3 separate regions of the Homo sapiens genome follow, and regions 1 and 3 are each linked to region 2. The links are contacts of gene promoters, found by promoter capture Hi-C in blood cells and fetal thymus (Javierre and others, 2016). All regions are on one chromosome and are shown on one strand. Each heading gives the region's core, a stretch centred on a gene start or on the middle of the fragment in contact. The rest is flanking DNA. Distances are from core to core; before and after follow the strand shown.

Region 1 (4,917 bases), core at 332-2,831, 2.6 Mb after region 2:
GTCACCCTCTCTTAAGGTCACGCCAGTTTTCCTGGCTGTCGTCCTCATGAAGGGTGGCTTCCTCCCTGAAGTGCTCCGCTCTGTCCCCTCCCTTGAGTCCCGGGCTTCACACACACAAACTCTGTTGGATGTTTTTTCCAGGAAATGCAGTTATTCTGACACTAGTGGGCCATTTCCCCGGCGTCCTCATTCCATTTCTGACAGTGCTCCTGCTACCCTCAGTAGATTATTATTATTTATTATTTATCAGCCACGACACTGTACTCTGCTTCCTACAAAATATTAAAGAAGACACAATCCGTGCGCTGAGTTTACAGCCAAGGAGAGCAGAGGCCTGGATCAGACATCACAGGGGGGGAGCTGAGAAGAAAATATTTACCGGCTCAGTCCTCCTTGGCCCTGGTAGATGGAGGCAAGGACTGGCAAAGCCCTCCCCAGGCCAGCTCCTCCCAGCTGGGCCCCCACAGCCAGCTCCCCACACTACCTACAGCACCCCAACTCCAATTTCTAGCAAGGCCTCAGGCCTCAGGCCTTTACCCGGGGGAGCGGAGGGAGGGTGGAGGATGAGGATTGGGCCCTCAGGCCTTTACATTCAGACAGGGGTGGAGGAGGAGGGCAGGTACAGATATTTCCTCTGAAACTCAAAACCAGGTAAAGGGGATGTAGGGGAGGAGGGAGAGGTCGGGGAATAAAAACCAGATTAGGAGAGCGGTCGGGGTGGAGAAGACTGTGCCCAGAGTGAAATATTCTAGCATAATGGAAAAGCCCTCATTGGGGGTCCCACACGCCTCTGGCCAAATCTCTTCTATTAGGGTTAGAAGTTAGGGTCTGTGTAGACAGCATGTGTAGACCGAGAGGTGGTGGGACTGAGAAGTCAGTGTAGACAGTGTGAGAGAGAGCGAGCTGTGGTGGGGGTGAGTAGTCGGTATAGACATCAAAGGCTGGTCAGGCTGTTAAACAGAGAAGGCTTCCTGGATTCCTAAGGGTCAGTATGAACAGAAAAGTCGCGCGCCCCAGGAGAGGCAGGGCTGACTCAGAAGGCTGGTGGACACTTTGCAGGGCTCTCCCTGGTCCTTCAGAGGTGTGGACAATTCCTGCTCCTTTCCAAGGCTGGAGTGTCATAAAGAGGGCGGAAGCTGAAAGACGATTGGACTTTTTCCTTCTCAAACTTTTCCGCCAGTTTCCTCAGGTGTTGAGAGCAGACGGGGAGCTCGCCTCAGTCCCGGGCCCCCAACCCTGGGCCAGCAAGGCCAGGAGGCCACGGCGGAGCAGCCCGTGCCACGCGCCGTGCGTCTGCCGGGCGCGGCCGCGGAGCCAGGCGAGCCGGGGGCCACCGCGGGGGGCGGGGGCGGCGGACGGACGGACCGACGGACACACCCGCGAGCACTCCAACCTCGGACCCGGCGCGCGGCAGCCGGGAATCCCTCGGGCCGGGGAAACTGCGCACGGGGCCCGGCCTGGCCGGGCCGGGCCAGAGGGCCCCGCCTCCCCCACCCGCCACCCCCGCCCACTCGGGCGCCCGTGATTGGCTCCGCCCGCCCCTGGCTGCGCGCCGAAGCCCGCCTCCCTCGCAGCTAAAGCAGACGGTACCCGGAGCGGAGCGAGCCAGAAGGGAGCATGGTCCCCGCGCCGCGGCCGCGCCAGCCCCCGCGCCGCCGCCGCCGTCCCCGCCACCGCGGATCTCGCCGCAGCTCCAGCCCCGGCCCCGGCTCCGCAGCGCCCGTCCGCAGCCCCGGCGGTCGCCGCGCTTGAGCGCAGCCCCCGCCCGGAGCCCGAGCCGCGAGCCCGGAGCCAGCCCCAGCCCCGCGGCCGCCGCGGCTGCGGGGAGAGGGCGGGGGCGATGCTGCCGGAGCCGCCGCCGCCGCCGCCGCCTCGATGAGAGCCGCGCCGCACCGCTCATAGCCGCACAGGCTGACAGGCAGGAGGACCGACTTCCCTCTCCCGGGCATCCTCCCTGGGCTGCCGGGAGGCGGCGGCGGCGGAGGAGGAGGAGGAACGAGGGGAGAAGGCGGAGAGCAGGAACGCGAGGAGGAGGACCTGGATCCGTTTCCTCCGGCCAGGACCCGAGCGGCCCCAGCCACCGCTACCCGCCGGCGCTGTCCGCTCTCCATCAGCCCTCCTGCGCCCACCCGCGACCCCGGGCTCTCTGCGCGTCGGGCCGGGGCCGGAGCCGCGCGCCGGAGGTAAGAGCCGGGCCGGGCTGGAGCGCCTCGGATGCGGCGCCGGAGGGAGACCCAGGTCCTGGCCGCCGCGTGGGGCCGGGCCGGGCCGGGCGTGGGAGCGGGGCCGGAACCCGGAACCCTGGGCTCGGCTTCGGCGGCGGCGGCGGCGACAGGAGCCTCCCGCGTCTGGACTCGCAGGCTGCAGGAGCCCTTGCGCCTGCGCTGCTCCAGGGGGAAAAAAAGGGGGGGAAAAAACTTCCTGCCCCCGGGTGTGTATGCACCGGGGCTGCCTGGGGCCACTGTCACGGTGTTCGGAGGTGCTGGAGGCTTGTGTGACCCCTGGCCGGAGCAGCCCCCCTGCTGGGCCCGGCGGCGCGCGCCCCTCTCCAGGCCACGTTCCCCTGAGCGGCCCAGGGCCCCGGCCGGGCAGGAGACCTGGAGGCGACGGAGGGCTGGCCCCCAGGGGCGGCCGCGCGCACTGTCCTTTGGGGAGGTGCGCGCCTCTGTGCAGCGAGAAGCCAGGTTGGGGTTTTCTGCCCCTCGCGTCCTCTGATCTCGCATTTGGGGACTGGGTCTCTTTACTCAATCCCAAGTAACTTTCGAGGTAGATGAGCTCGAAAACCGTCGGGAGGGAACCCGCACAGACCTTATTGTGACCCACCCCACCCCGACACACACACGCACACTTCCCTTGACACCTTGTGGGTGCCAGCGTGTTGTGGGGGGACGCGGAAAGGAGAGCTCACGGGGACGGCGAAGCGGCCAGGAGGTGGTGTCGTTGGGGAGGGGTTGTTGATGTGTGGGACAGGGTGGACCTGGAGATGTGTAGTGTGGGAGTGTGAACGCGCGCCCCGATGGCCTCGGGGGGCCGGGGGAGCCCAGGGCTCGCGTCCCGGTCTCCGTGGCCTGGAGCGGGCTGAGAGCGCTAGGGTTATCTGCGGTCGCCGCGCGGGTGCCCGCGCTGGGCAGCGTCGGCCCCGGGCCCCAAGGGAGGGACGTGCTCGCCTGGGGCCGGAGCGCGGGGCTGGGAGCCGGGGTAGGTCGGAGGTGGCTCTTAGGGCAGGTCGCCTCTGCGTTGCCTGGGGAAGGCGGGGACGCGCTGCCTGCCTGCGGCCAGCCGTCTCGGAGGAGGGGGTGGCGGCCACGCGCGAGTCTCGGATGCCTGGGTCCACCCGCTGAGAAGCCAGTTGTCGTCCCTGGGCTGTGGAACCAAGCGGCAGACGCGGTCCGTTGGCGGGCCCTCGCGCGGGCCCCCAGAGATGCTGATGGGTAAGGAGCTGCCGCCGCCGCCGCTGCCATCCCCGCCGCTCTGCAAACGTTCTCCTCCCTCCCTCCCGTGCTTGCGCCGCGGCGCGCCCCGGGCGAATCGTGGACGCAGGTATTTATGTAGCATTAGGCGAGACCTCGGCGCTGGAGGGACCAGACCGTGGAGGACGCCGAGCTGCTGCTGCCTGCGAAACTTCCACTTCGGCAGCTCAGCGGCATCCCGGCCCGCTGCTGCAGGTTCCAGCCTCTCTCCAGTCCAGCAACGCTGGGATTCGGACTCCTCTTGCAATGACAGATCTGTCCTGGTTACGGCTGTATTTATACTAGTTTCAGTCTCTTTAAAGTCATCTGTCTAGTCACTACAGAGTTTCTTCCTCGCCGTGTGGTCTTATCACTAACTCAGCCCTGGGAGGGCAGATTTGAGGAATTGCTTCATTTTCAGATGAATGACAGCAGACTTGTCCCACCTCATTCCTGATTTATTATTATTATTATTATTATTATTATTATTATTATTATTATGGAAAGAAGGTATAGAGCTTTTTAATTTTTTTGTGAGGGAGGAGAATGAACAATTTTATAGATTGTTCTTTCCGACACTTAGAGAAAACATGTCCAGTAAGCACTAGTGAATACTTTAAAGGCTGGTTGGCATGCGTGTATTTGATTAGTCCATAATCTAGGTGTTTATACAGGTATGGAGCTGTGTGCTACTGATGAATAGTCTCCGTCCCATACATTGTGCTGGAGTGCACTTGATTTATCACCCTGCTATAAATCAGGGAATTACTAGCACATGTGCCTTTTAAACTCTATATGAATTTAATGGCATTTAAATTGGTTTATGGGCTGATGCATCTAACCAATTTTAATAACTTTTCTGCACAAACATCTTATAAACCATATTTGCCTGTGATTAAGAAAAACATTTTCTTCTCCTCGGTCTCTCGGTTATGGAAATTTATAGGTCTCCAACTTTCATTTGCAAGCAGCAATCCAAACGAAATACCTAGAGTTTTACTGAAATAAAATATCCTATGGTAGCCATGGTAACAAATAGATTAAGGGTTATTGGTTTTCATCTGAATGTGATGGGGGGTGGGGATCTAGTGTTGTGTCTTTTTAATTATGTTTCTAATGAGTGGTGGTCATACTTCAAGTACTCAGTGTGGGAGACAAGCAAGACTGAGAATTCAGGTTTGTGGGAGGTTTATTGAAACAAAGACTAGTAGAGCCCAGGAGAATGACTTTTGCTAACTGCAGCTCCTCATATCTAGGAACAAAATGGATAAAAACCTTTTTTTTGTTTTTCCAGTAGATGAGCATTGAGTCAGTCACTTTAAGACCGGAAAATGCATTTTGCTTATAAACTATTACCAAAGGAACCTCTAAATCCAGCCTGTTTTCTAGGAATAAACATGTTGGAAGTGTGGCGGTTGGTGTGGATTGAGTGTCACCGTTGTTATCAACACCTGTCAGTTTAAGTGAG
Region 2 (4,858 bases), core at 1,793-4,292:
GATGTGAAGGACCTCTTCAAGGAGAACTACAAACCACTGCTCAATGAAATAAAAGAGGACACAAACAAATGGAAGAACATTCCATGCTCATGGATAGGAAGAATCAATATTGTGAAAATGGCCATACTGCCCAAGGTAATTTATAGATTCAATGCCATCCCCATCAAGCTACCAATGACTTTCTTCATGGAATTGGAAAAAACTACTTTAAAGTTCATATGGAACCAAAAAAGAGCCTGCATTGCCAAGTCAGTCCTAAGCAAAAAGAACAAAGCTGGAGGCATCACGCTACCTGACTTCAAACTATACTACAAGGCTACAGTAACCAAAACAGCATGGTACTGGTACCAAAACAGAGATATAGATCAATGGAACAGAACAGAGCCCTCAGAAATAATACCACACATCTACAACTATCTGATCTTTGACAAACCTGACAAAAACAAGAAATGGGGAAAGGATTCCCTACTTAACAAATGGTGCTGGGAAAACTGGCTAGCCATATGTAGAAAGCTGAAACTGGATCCCTTCCTTACACCTTATACAAAAATTAATTCAAGATGGATTAAAGACTTAAATGTTAGACCTAAAACCATAAAAACCCTAGAAGAAAACCTAGGCAATACCATTCAGGACATAGGCATGGGCAAGGACTTCATGTCTAAAACACCAAAAGCAATGGCAACAAAAGCCAAAATTGACAAATGGGATCTAATTTAACTAAAGAGCTTCTGCACAGCAAAAGAAACTACCATCAGAGTGAACAGGCAACCTACAGAATGGGAGAAAATTTTTGCAACCTACTCATCTGACAAAGGGCTAATATCCAGAATCTACAAAGAACTCAAACAAATTTACAAGAAAAAAACAAACAACCCCATCAAAAAGTGGGTGAAGGATATGAACAGACACTTCTCAAAAGAAGACATTTATGCAGACAAAAAACACATGAAAAAATGCTCATCATCACTGGCCATCAGAGAAATGCAAATCAAAACTACAATGAGACATCTTCTCACAGCAGTTAGAATGGTGATCATTAAAAAGTCAGGAAACAACAGGTGCTGGAGAAGATGTGGAGAAACAGGAACACTTTTACACTGTTGGTGGGACTGTAAACTAGCTCAACCATTGTGGAAGTCAGTGTGGCGATTCCTCAGGGATCTAGAACTAGAAATACCATTTGACCCAGCCATCCCATTACTGGGTATATACCCAAAGGAATATAAATCATGCTGCTATAAAGACACATGCACATGTATGTTTATTGCAGCACTACTTACAATAGCAAAGACTTGGAACCAACCCAAACGTCCAACAATGATAGACTGGATTAAGAAAATGTGGCACATATACACCATGGGATACTATGCAGCCATAAAAAAGAATGAGTTCATGTCCTTTGTAGGGACATGGATGAAGCTGGAAACCATCATTCTCAGCAAACTATCGCAAGGACAAAAAACCAAACACCACATGTTCTCACTCATAGGTGGGAATTGAACAATGAGAACACTTGGACACAGGAAGGGGGAGATCACACACCGGGGCCTGTTGTGGGGTGGGGTGAGTGGGGAGGGATAGCATTAGGAGATATACCTAATGTAAATGACAAGTTAATGGGTGCAGCACACCAACATGGCACATGTATACATATGTAACAAACCTGCACGTTGTGCATATGTACCCTAGAACTTAAAGTATAATTTTAAAAAAATTAAAAAAAAGAAAGAAAAAATCCTCCAGTCTGAAGGCATTAAGTTATCAAAAAGCAAAATATTAAAATATAAAATTTTAGATGGGCACCCACTGTGTTGCCCTGATTATCCCCCTAGAATGCTACATGCTGGAAAGAGGGGCCTTAGCAGGTTTCTAAGTCTTTAACCTTCAGGTGGAAAAATGGGGAAACACACAAGAGACACTCCTACGTATAGTTTCAGAAAGAAGTTTAATTAAAAAACAGCTTTTGAGAATAAACATTCTGGAGATGCTTCTAAATCTTCTGGGTTTCTTTTGGTTGTATCTCTTTCTCCATACAGATTTGTTCTTTCAACTCAAGGACTATCAACTCTTTTTTTTTTTTTGAGACTGAGTCTCACTTTGTCGCCCAGGCTAGAGTGCAGTGGCGCCATCTCGGCTCACTGCAAGCTCCACCTCCCGGGTTCACGCCATTCTCCTGCTTCAGTCTCCCGAGTAGCTGGGACTACAGGCGCCCGCCACCACGCCCGGCTAATTTATTTATTTATGTATTTATTTTTGTATTTTTAGTAAAGATGGGGTTTCACCGTGTTAGCCAGGATGGTCTCGATCTCCTGACCTCCTGATCCGCCCGCCTCGGGGTCCCAAAGTGCTGGGATTACAGGCGTGAGCCACGGCGCCCGGCCAGGACTATCAACTCTTGTGTTTGGTACACAGGACACAAAGCAGGTGTCCGGTAACTACTTGCGAGGGAAGATACGAATTAACCAAGGAATAAAGTGTTCCAATCTGCATTCTGTCTTGCGTGGGGAACAAAACCAAACTAAGACCCAAGGATGAGGGTTTACGGTTAAGGTCTTCAGCGTGAATAAAAGGCGGCGTGAGCACTAAACGCCGGGGGCAAAGAACACTCCCGGCCCAGAGTTTGACCCCTCCTAGCGAGTTCTTCCCGGCCAGCTGCCCAACTTTTTGGCCTCTACTCCTCCGCGGGGGCACCATAAGACTCCCTACAGGTGGGCTACACTTAGGGGTTCAAATGCTGCATTACCGCGCTCGGGTGAGCGACTGCCCGGCCTGCAACTCAAGGGACTCCCAGGCCAAGTGGCTCCGAACTCGCGAGCTGTCGGAACAGTATTATTTTTGCTGCTACGGGCCATCTGGCCCAGGGCAACAGGGGCTCTGCGAGGAACCATAGAGAAGAAGGGGCGCCAGATCCCGCGTGCCTGCCCACCCGTCCTTCCTTTGGGCAGTCACCCTGAGCTCGGCAAGCTGTACCTCACCTGTCCACCTGGAAGGCTGCCCGCTCTCCCTGAGGGTCCTGGGAAGGCGGCACGAGACCGGAAGTGCCCCCCTCAGGTGACGTCACAGTACCGCGCCGGAGCTGATCCGGGAAGCCGATGTCAGCCTGGCGCGCGGCGCACAGCTGGCTGGGAGATTTCTTACTGGCTTGGAGCCGGTGGTCCAGATCAGAGAGACCTCTTGGAGGGTGTCGGGGTTTTCCTTTCTTTTTCATTTGAATTTTATCCGCCTTTTATTTTCTGTCATCCTTGATGTGCTTCTGGCTTCTGGCTTCCCTTTCCTTCTCTCTCATTTGTTCCATGTCTGCCCCTCTTTTCTCCCTCTTCCCATTTCCCTCTTTCTGCGTTACTAGTTGCATATCTTCCCCACATACACAGGAAAGTTGATTCTCATTTGATCATGTTCATAAGCATGATCAATAAAGTATTTTTTTAATTAAGGTGTTGCCAACTTTAAGAAAATTCAGAGAATAATATTAAGTATAGAGTTTATTTGGGCTCAGTGCTTGAGAATGGCCACTCAGGAGCTTAGATTCAAGTTGCCTTGAATATACACTCCAATTAGCAGCAGTCGGAGTAGGTTTTTTTTTTTTTTTTTTTTTTTTTTTGAGACGGAGTCTTGCTCTGTCGCCCAGGCCGGACTGCGGACCGCAGTGGCGCAATCTCGGCTCACTGAAAGCTCCGCTTCCCGGGTTCACGCCATTCTCCTGCCTCAGCCTCCCGAGTAGCTGGGACTACAGGCGCCCGCCACCGCGCCCGGCTAATTTTTTGTATTTTTAGTAGAGACGGGGTTTCACCTTGTTAGCCAGGATGGTCTCGATCTCCTGACCTCATGATCCACCCGCCTCGGCCTCCCAAAGTGCTGGGATTACAGGCGTGAGCCGGTTTTTAAGGAAAGGAGAGGAGGCAGAGCTTAACTTGTTTACCAAGAATTTATATTTAAAAAACTTAAGCTATTGACTGGCTATGCTTTCTTCCTTGTATCACAAATTCCAGGAACATAAAGATAATGGGTGAGGCAGCTAATAAAGAACAAAATGCCTTTAACAATTGCCCTAAGGCATGGGAAGGCGTGGCGGAAGCCAGTATTCACTTCTGTCCGGGTCTAATAAATTTTGCATACCTCACATAGCTCAGACAGCTCTGGGCTATTTTTCTTTTCTTAGTATGTACTTTTTTTAGACATAATACTGTTGTACACAATAATCTACAGTACAGTGTAAATATAAATTTTATATGCACTGGGAAACCAAAAAAATTCTGTGAACTGCCTTATTGTGATGTTTGCTTTATTGTGGTAGTATGGAACTGAACCCCCAATATCTTCAAAGTATGCTTGGATTTAAAAAAGAGGTTTACTTAGCTCATGGTTCTGCACATTGGAAAGCTCAAGGGGCATAGTGTGAGCATCTGCTCAGTTCTGGTTAGAGTTTTTTGTGCAGTGTCACAACATGGTAGAAGGTCAAAGGGGAAGCTGATACATGTGAAAACAGACCAAACAGGAGGTGGAAAACAACCCACTCTCTCAGGGACTCTCTCTTTTCCAATCTCTCAAGAGCTGTTATCAAACCAAACTGGAGTCCAATTGCCTGTGCAGCAAGACCAAACACTGACATCAGGATTATAGTGAAAGAAAGTGAGGCATTTATTGTAGGGTCCCAAGCAAGGAGAACTGGTCAGTTAGTGCTTAAGTCTTGAACTCCCTAATTGTTTATAGGTAAGGGTTTTTAAATGCAGGGGTGTCAGAGGTTATAGGCAAAGTCATAAATCAATATATGGAGGTTATATATTGGCTTAACCTAAAAATGCAGTGAGGTAGGATGCAGGAATTGGACACCAGACCAAATTGAGGACTAGCTAAA
Region 3 (4,585 bases), core at 539-3,038, 2.3 Mb before region 2:
CTCTCTTCAGTGTTCCATAGGACATTTGGAATCAATTAAATATTCAAATACAGAGTCCCTCAGATCTCTGGCCAGGCCCAGCAAGTTTGTCAGGGGGAGGGAGTTGAAGGCAGATAACTGCTCTTCCTCACACCAGAATCTATAGCTGGAGACAGACTTTTAAAATATACCCTTTAGGCTTCCTGGTCTGCAAGCAAATAGTTGTCCACAACATTAGAAATAATATGGAAAAACAACAGCAGCCTTATAGAGTAATAGGAGTCACAGCATATACGACAACTACTCTCAAACAAGGTGTCTTAAAGGTAAACAAGTAAGTGAGTACATTGGGCCTGGAAGACTGTACCAGTCATTTAAGTACAATAGTATGGTATGTACTGGCTACAAATGGTCTTTACATTTTTGAAAGATTATAAAAAGAAATCTGGCCTTTTAGATGAAGTTTGCTGCCCCTTGGTTTAGAGTTTTGTTTCCATGATATGTACTTGCCTAACCATTAGCATCGCTAATTACTATTACTGCTAATGGATAGTAATGATTATGTGCATTGTGGAAGGAGAAATGGATGTGTGCCTGTATGTGCCAGACACTTTGCTAAACATTTTACCTAGTCTGTCTCTTTCATTCACTGAGTAATCCTTTAAAGTAGACACTTATATTTCAATATAGAGCCAAAAAAAATAATAGCTCGGAAAGGTTAAGTAACTTGCCAAGGTTACAGGAAGCATTACACAGTAGAGCTGTTAGTCAAACCCAATGTGGTGGTGTGTTTAAGCTGTGAAGCCCCTTGTCCAATTAAATCCTACTTAGAACCCCACTATATAAAATAGTTACTCTGAGCAAAGTTGAAACAGAAGGCCAGCAACCTCAACCCTTCTCAGAATAAGCTGCTTGAAACACGAGTCAATTTTTCAAAAAAAATGAAGCTGAGAACCAGCATGGAAAATGGGCTTTCAACTCATTTCTTCCATGATCTGGCACATTACAGTTTCCCCTCTGATATACTGCTGAGGGTGAGAACAATACCAAAATAACAGGACTGCCTTTTACTTATTTCTTTGCCCAGTAAAATGGATTAAAGTGAGTCAGCAAAAGGGAGAAAGAAGGAGGGGAAGTTAAGGACTTCTTCAAAATCTACCTCATCATTTTGGAGCTCTTAGTCCTCAATTCCATCAAACACAGTGGTGCGAAGGACATCTTCCAAATGGCAGCTCATTTTACCTTAATAGTTGGTGTTTCCAGGTAAGTTTCTAGCTTTCTATCATGATAAGTTAATATATCCTATTTTATTATGGTGCCACAAACAAAAGAACTCTGAAAGGCTCAACTCTTACAAAAGGTCCAAATCCCCTGAAAAGCATCAAGTATCAAAATGCAGCCAGAAAAGATGGTATTAAATGAAAAAAAGGGGCTCCCTTTTAATGAAGTCGAGGTGTAGGACAGATTTATTAGCTTCCATTTTTCCAAGTTGCATTCTGGTGTATTTCCTGCCTATATTTCTAAGTTCAGCAGGTCTCTTTGTAGGATTACTTTTTAAAAATACAATGTTTCAAAGAATATGATGCAGCTATATCCACTACACCTGCAGAGACACACCTGTGATGATACACTGTTTCTCCAATTCACAAGGCAATGCTCTAACAGAAAACAGACCTTCTGCATGATATGCCAAGATCCTGCCATTCTTGAAAATAACCGATACTCATAAGCTGATATTATAAATGGTCTTAAAAATAATAACCAAGAATTATCCCTGGGCTAAATAGTCATTAAATTCAGTGTAACTGTCTATACTTTAGTGTTATAATTCCTTTTTCCGATATGAGATAGTGAAACAAATAATTAAAATTAAGTAGATACTTTTGATGTTGTAACACAGATGCCTGCAATATTCCTATTTGGGCTCAATTATTCTTATGCATACCATTATTTACTGATTTTTTACTGTGTGCTGGGCACTATACTTGATTCTTGATGGAGGAAAGCTAATAATAAAATAAATCTCCTTTCCTTAGAGAATTTCTATTCTGATTATCTGACTGAACCTGTGAATGAATAATTAGTGCACTAAACTCCTAGTAAAAGTACCAAGATCAAGGGGGAAAAAAAAAGTAGGAAGAGAGAATTGTCTCTGCCTACGGGGGCTGGAGAAAGGAACACATTTGAAAGGAACCTGAAGGGTAAGTCGTATTTCCAAGGAAAAAGGAGATGGCATTCCAGACTGAAAGAACAATATAAAGAAAGGCCCAAAGCAAGTGAGTAGGTGACTGTTCTAAAATCAGGACTGGATTATCTGATGGGATGACCAGAGATGTACTGTCCAAGATACCAGTTGCTAGACATGTGCCTATTTAAATTAACATTACATATAATTAGAAATTCAGTTCTCAGTTGAATTTGAAGTACTTAATAATCCCATGTTTCTAGAGTCCATCACATCAGACAACACAGAGTATTCCTTTCCTCACTGCAAAGTTCTACTGAACAGTGCTGAGTATGAGAGTATAGGGTAAGCATGGTGCTGTCTCATGGAGCCTCAACTCTATCTTCAACAGTTTAATCTTTAGTCTAAATAAAAGTGGTTTATAAACCACTATATTCTATGAAATCCCTTTAGGAATTGCCGTGGGGGACTCCACCTTGGCAGCATTGCGATAACCTGCTTTACCCCCTCCAGCTTCTACGTTTCAGTGAAACACCGCTTTTGAAGAAAGAATTCTGCCAAATTTTTTTTTTTTTAAGGCTCAAAACCCACTGTTTTTTAAGCAGGAATGTGATAGATTTGGGTTTTAGGAATATTATCTCTCAGAGCAGTGTACAAGATACGTGGCAAGAAGAGACTGGGCAGACCAAGATCAGCATAGGCTAATGGTGACATGATAAAGGACTGTATTCAGTGAAGCCTCCAAAGAAATGCACAGTTAAGAATTTGTACCAGTAAATTTATTCCAAGTAAGACTTGTGTGCACACACCAGGCAGATAATTTCCACACAAACACCAAACATTGTAGTAAAACTAGTTAACACTTTGGCCATGAAACTCAAAGATACTTGAAAAACCTCTCGATAGCACTTTGAGTCACTTAATTCTGACAAATATTAATATGTCATCCATGCTTGCCCAGTTATAATTTTACAATATAATTGTATTTTTCATTGTACTTATTATTCATTATACTTACTATATATATTTAAAACATCTTTGCTGAAATTCTCTTATCCCAAAAATAATTTTTCAGTAACTCCAAAATACCCACATGTACCTCTTAGCAGGCTATTCCAATATCAAAATTCTTTTTCTTCAAGTAACAAGTTCTCAATCCACACCATTCCTGATCACAGATATAACTGATATGCAGTTTTATAAACAGCTCTTTTACTCCTTGTTCCTATTTTAGCAGGCCAACCATCACTTCACTGATATCCCAGAGTTTTCTTGCAACAGATTCATCCATAGCTTTGGGCAACAGTTCTTCCTCTTTACAATCCCCAAAGTATCTTCCTGACACTCCTTCTACCTCAGGTGAAGAGGCCAAATAAATGGAAGTCTGGGCACCTTCTACTGGAGTTTTGAAAAAAGCCCATGACACCAAATTGAAGAGTGGTTTGACCAACAGTGGAATGTGTATGTGCCTCCCCAGATTTGTCCGTACAATACCAGGATGCAACACATTGACGGTGACATTTGTGCCTTCTAAGCGGCGGGCTAGTTCCCTGGTAAAAAGAATGTTAGCCAGTTTGCTCCGGCTATAACAAAAGCTTTTATTATAGCTTTGTTCACTGTTCAAGTCATCAAAATTGATGTCTCCGTATTTATAAAGTTTGGAAGAAACTACCACAATCCTGCTGGGAGCTGAACTTTTGAGGAGTCCAAGGAGAAGATTGGTGAGTAGAAAGTGCCCCAGATGGTTCACTCCGAACTGCATCTCAAACCCATCTTCAGTCTTCATGTAAGGGCACTGGAAGATCCCTGCGTTATTGATCAAGACATCCAGCCTAGGCTCTTCCTTTAAATGTCAAAAAGAGAATGGCAGAATTATTAAGAACACACGCCTTGTATTGCTTTTTCTGTTCATGATAATTACATTTTAATAAAAATGGGCACTTGAGACTAAAAGCATTTAATTTCAGTTGTTGGTCTATCGATCAGAGAACTACTTGAAACACTGGCAATTTTGTGTTTAATAAATGGGGAAAGGGATTCCTCCGCAGGATGTTCCTCAGATAAATACTGATGTTCATGATCTTTCATTCAACAGCTCTTTTTTCTCATTTATTAAAATGATATACAGAAAGATATTTATCTACAGTCATCTTCCAATAAAAGATGTAGAAACTAAATCTAAGACTTAATTTCTGGTTTTATGCTTTTATAACAATAACATTTACAAATATATAAACTTTAACATTGCATTAGAAAGTTGACTACGTGATCAGTACCAAGATCTTTCTCAAAACAGAAATACAGTCAATTTGAGGACAAGGCACTCCTACAATCCCATATTTCTCCCTTTAATTTCAGTTGAACTAGGAAAATATCAATTTGGGAGTTATCAGGTTAATACTGAGATCATATCAAAATTAT

The links. The method cuts DNA at HindIII sites, captures the fragments that hold promoters and counts their contacts. A CHiCAGO score of 5 or more calls a contact.
Region 1: the fragment with the promoter of KLHL29 here is called in contact with the fragment with the promoter of LDAH in region 2 in 1 of 17 cell types (M2 macrophages); the score reaches 5.5 in M2 macrophages.
Region 3: a contact is called between a fragment that was not itself captured here and the fragment with the promoter of LDAH in region 2, in 2 of 17 cell types (activated CD4 T cells and non-activated CD4 T cells). The highest score is 5.5, in activated CD4 T cells.

What each region holds. Positions count from the first base shown.
Region 1 is chr2:23,383,598-23,388,514 of GRCh38, forward strand. It overlaps KLHL29 (kelch like family member 29), which reads left to right and starts at 1,582. Exons shown (of 14, transcript NM_052920.2): 1 at 1,582-2,183. LINC02923 (long intergenic non-protein coding RNA 2923) reads right to left here and starts at 3,721. Exons shown (of 6, transcript NR_187213.1): 1 at 1-3,721. RefSeq lists silencers at 1,319-1,668, 1,839-2,698, 2,939-3,058, 3,079-3,248, 3,419-3,468. The HindIII fragment of the contact is 11,520 bases long and covers 1-4,917 here.
Region 2 is chr2:20,820,059-20,824,916 of GRCh38, forward strand. LDAH (lipid droplet associated hydrolase) reads right to left here and starts at 3,043. Exons shown (of 7, transcript NM_021925.4): 1 at 2,979-3,043. RefSeq lists enhancers at 1,919-2,744, 2,547-2,616, 2,837-3,226. The HindIII fragment of the contact is 14,255 bases long and covers 1-4,858 here.
Region 3 is chr2:18,551,802-18,556,386 of GRCh38, forward strand. NT5C1B-RDH14 (NT5C1B-RDH14 readthrough) reads right to left here. Exons shown (of 11, transcript NM_001199104.2): 11 at 2,922-4,007. The coding sequence ends at 3,983. RDH14 (retinol dehydrogenase 14) reads right to left here. Exons shown (of 2, transcript NM_020905.4): 2 at 2,922-4,007. The coding sequence ends at 3,390. Among named protein-coding and RNA genes, the nearest start is that of RDH14, 6.6 kb to the right of the region's middle. The HindIII fragment of the contact is 3,937 bases long and covers 1-3,757 here.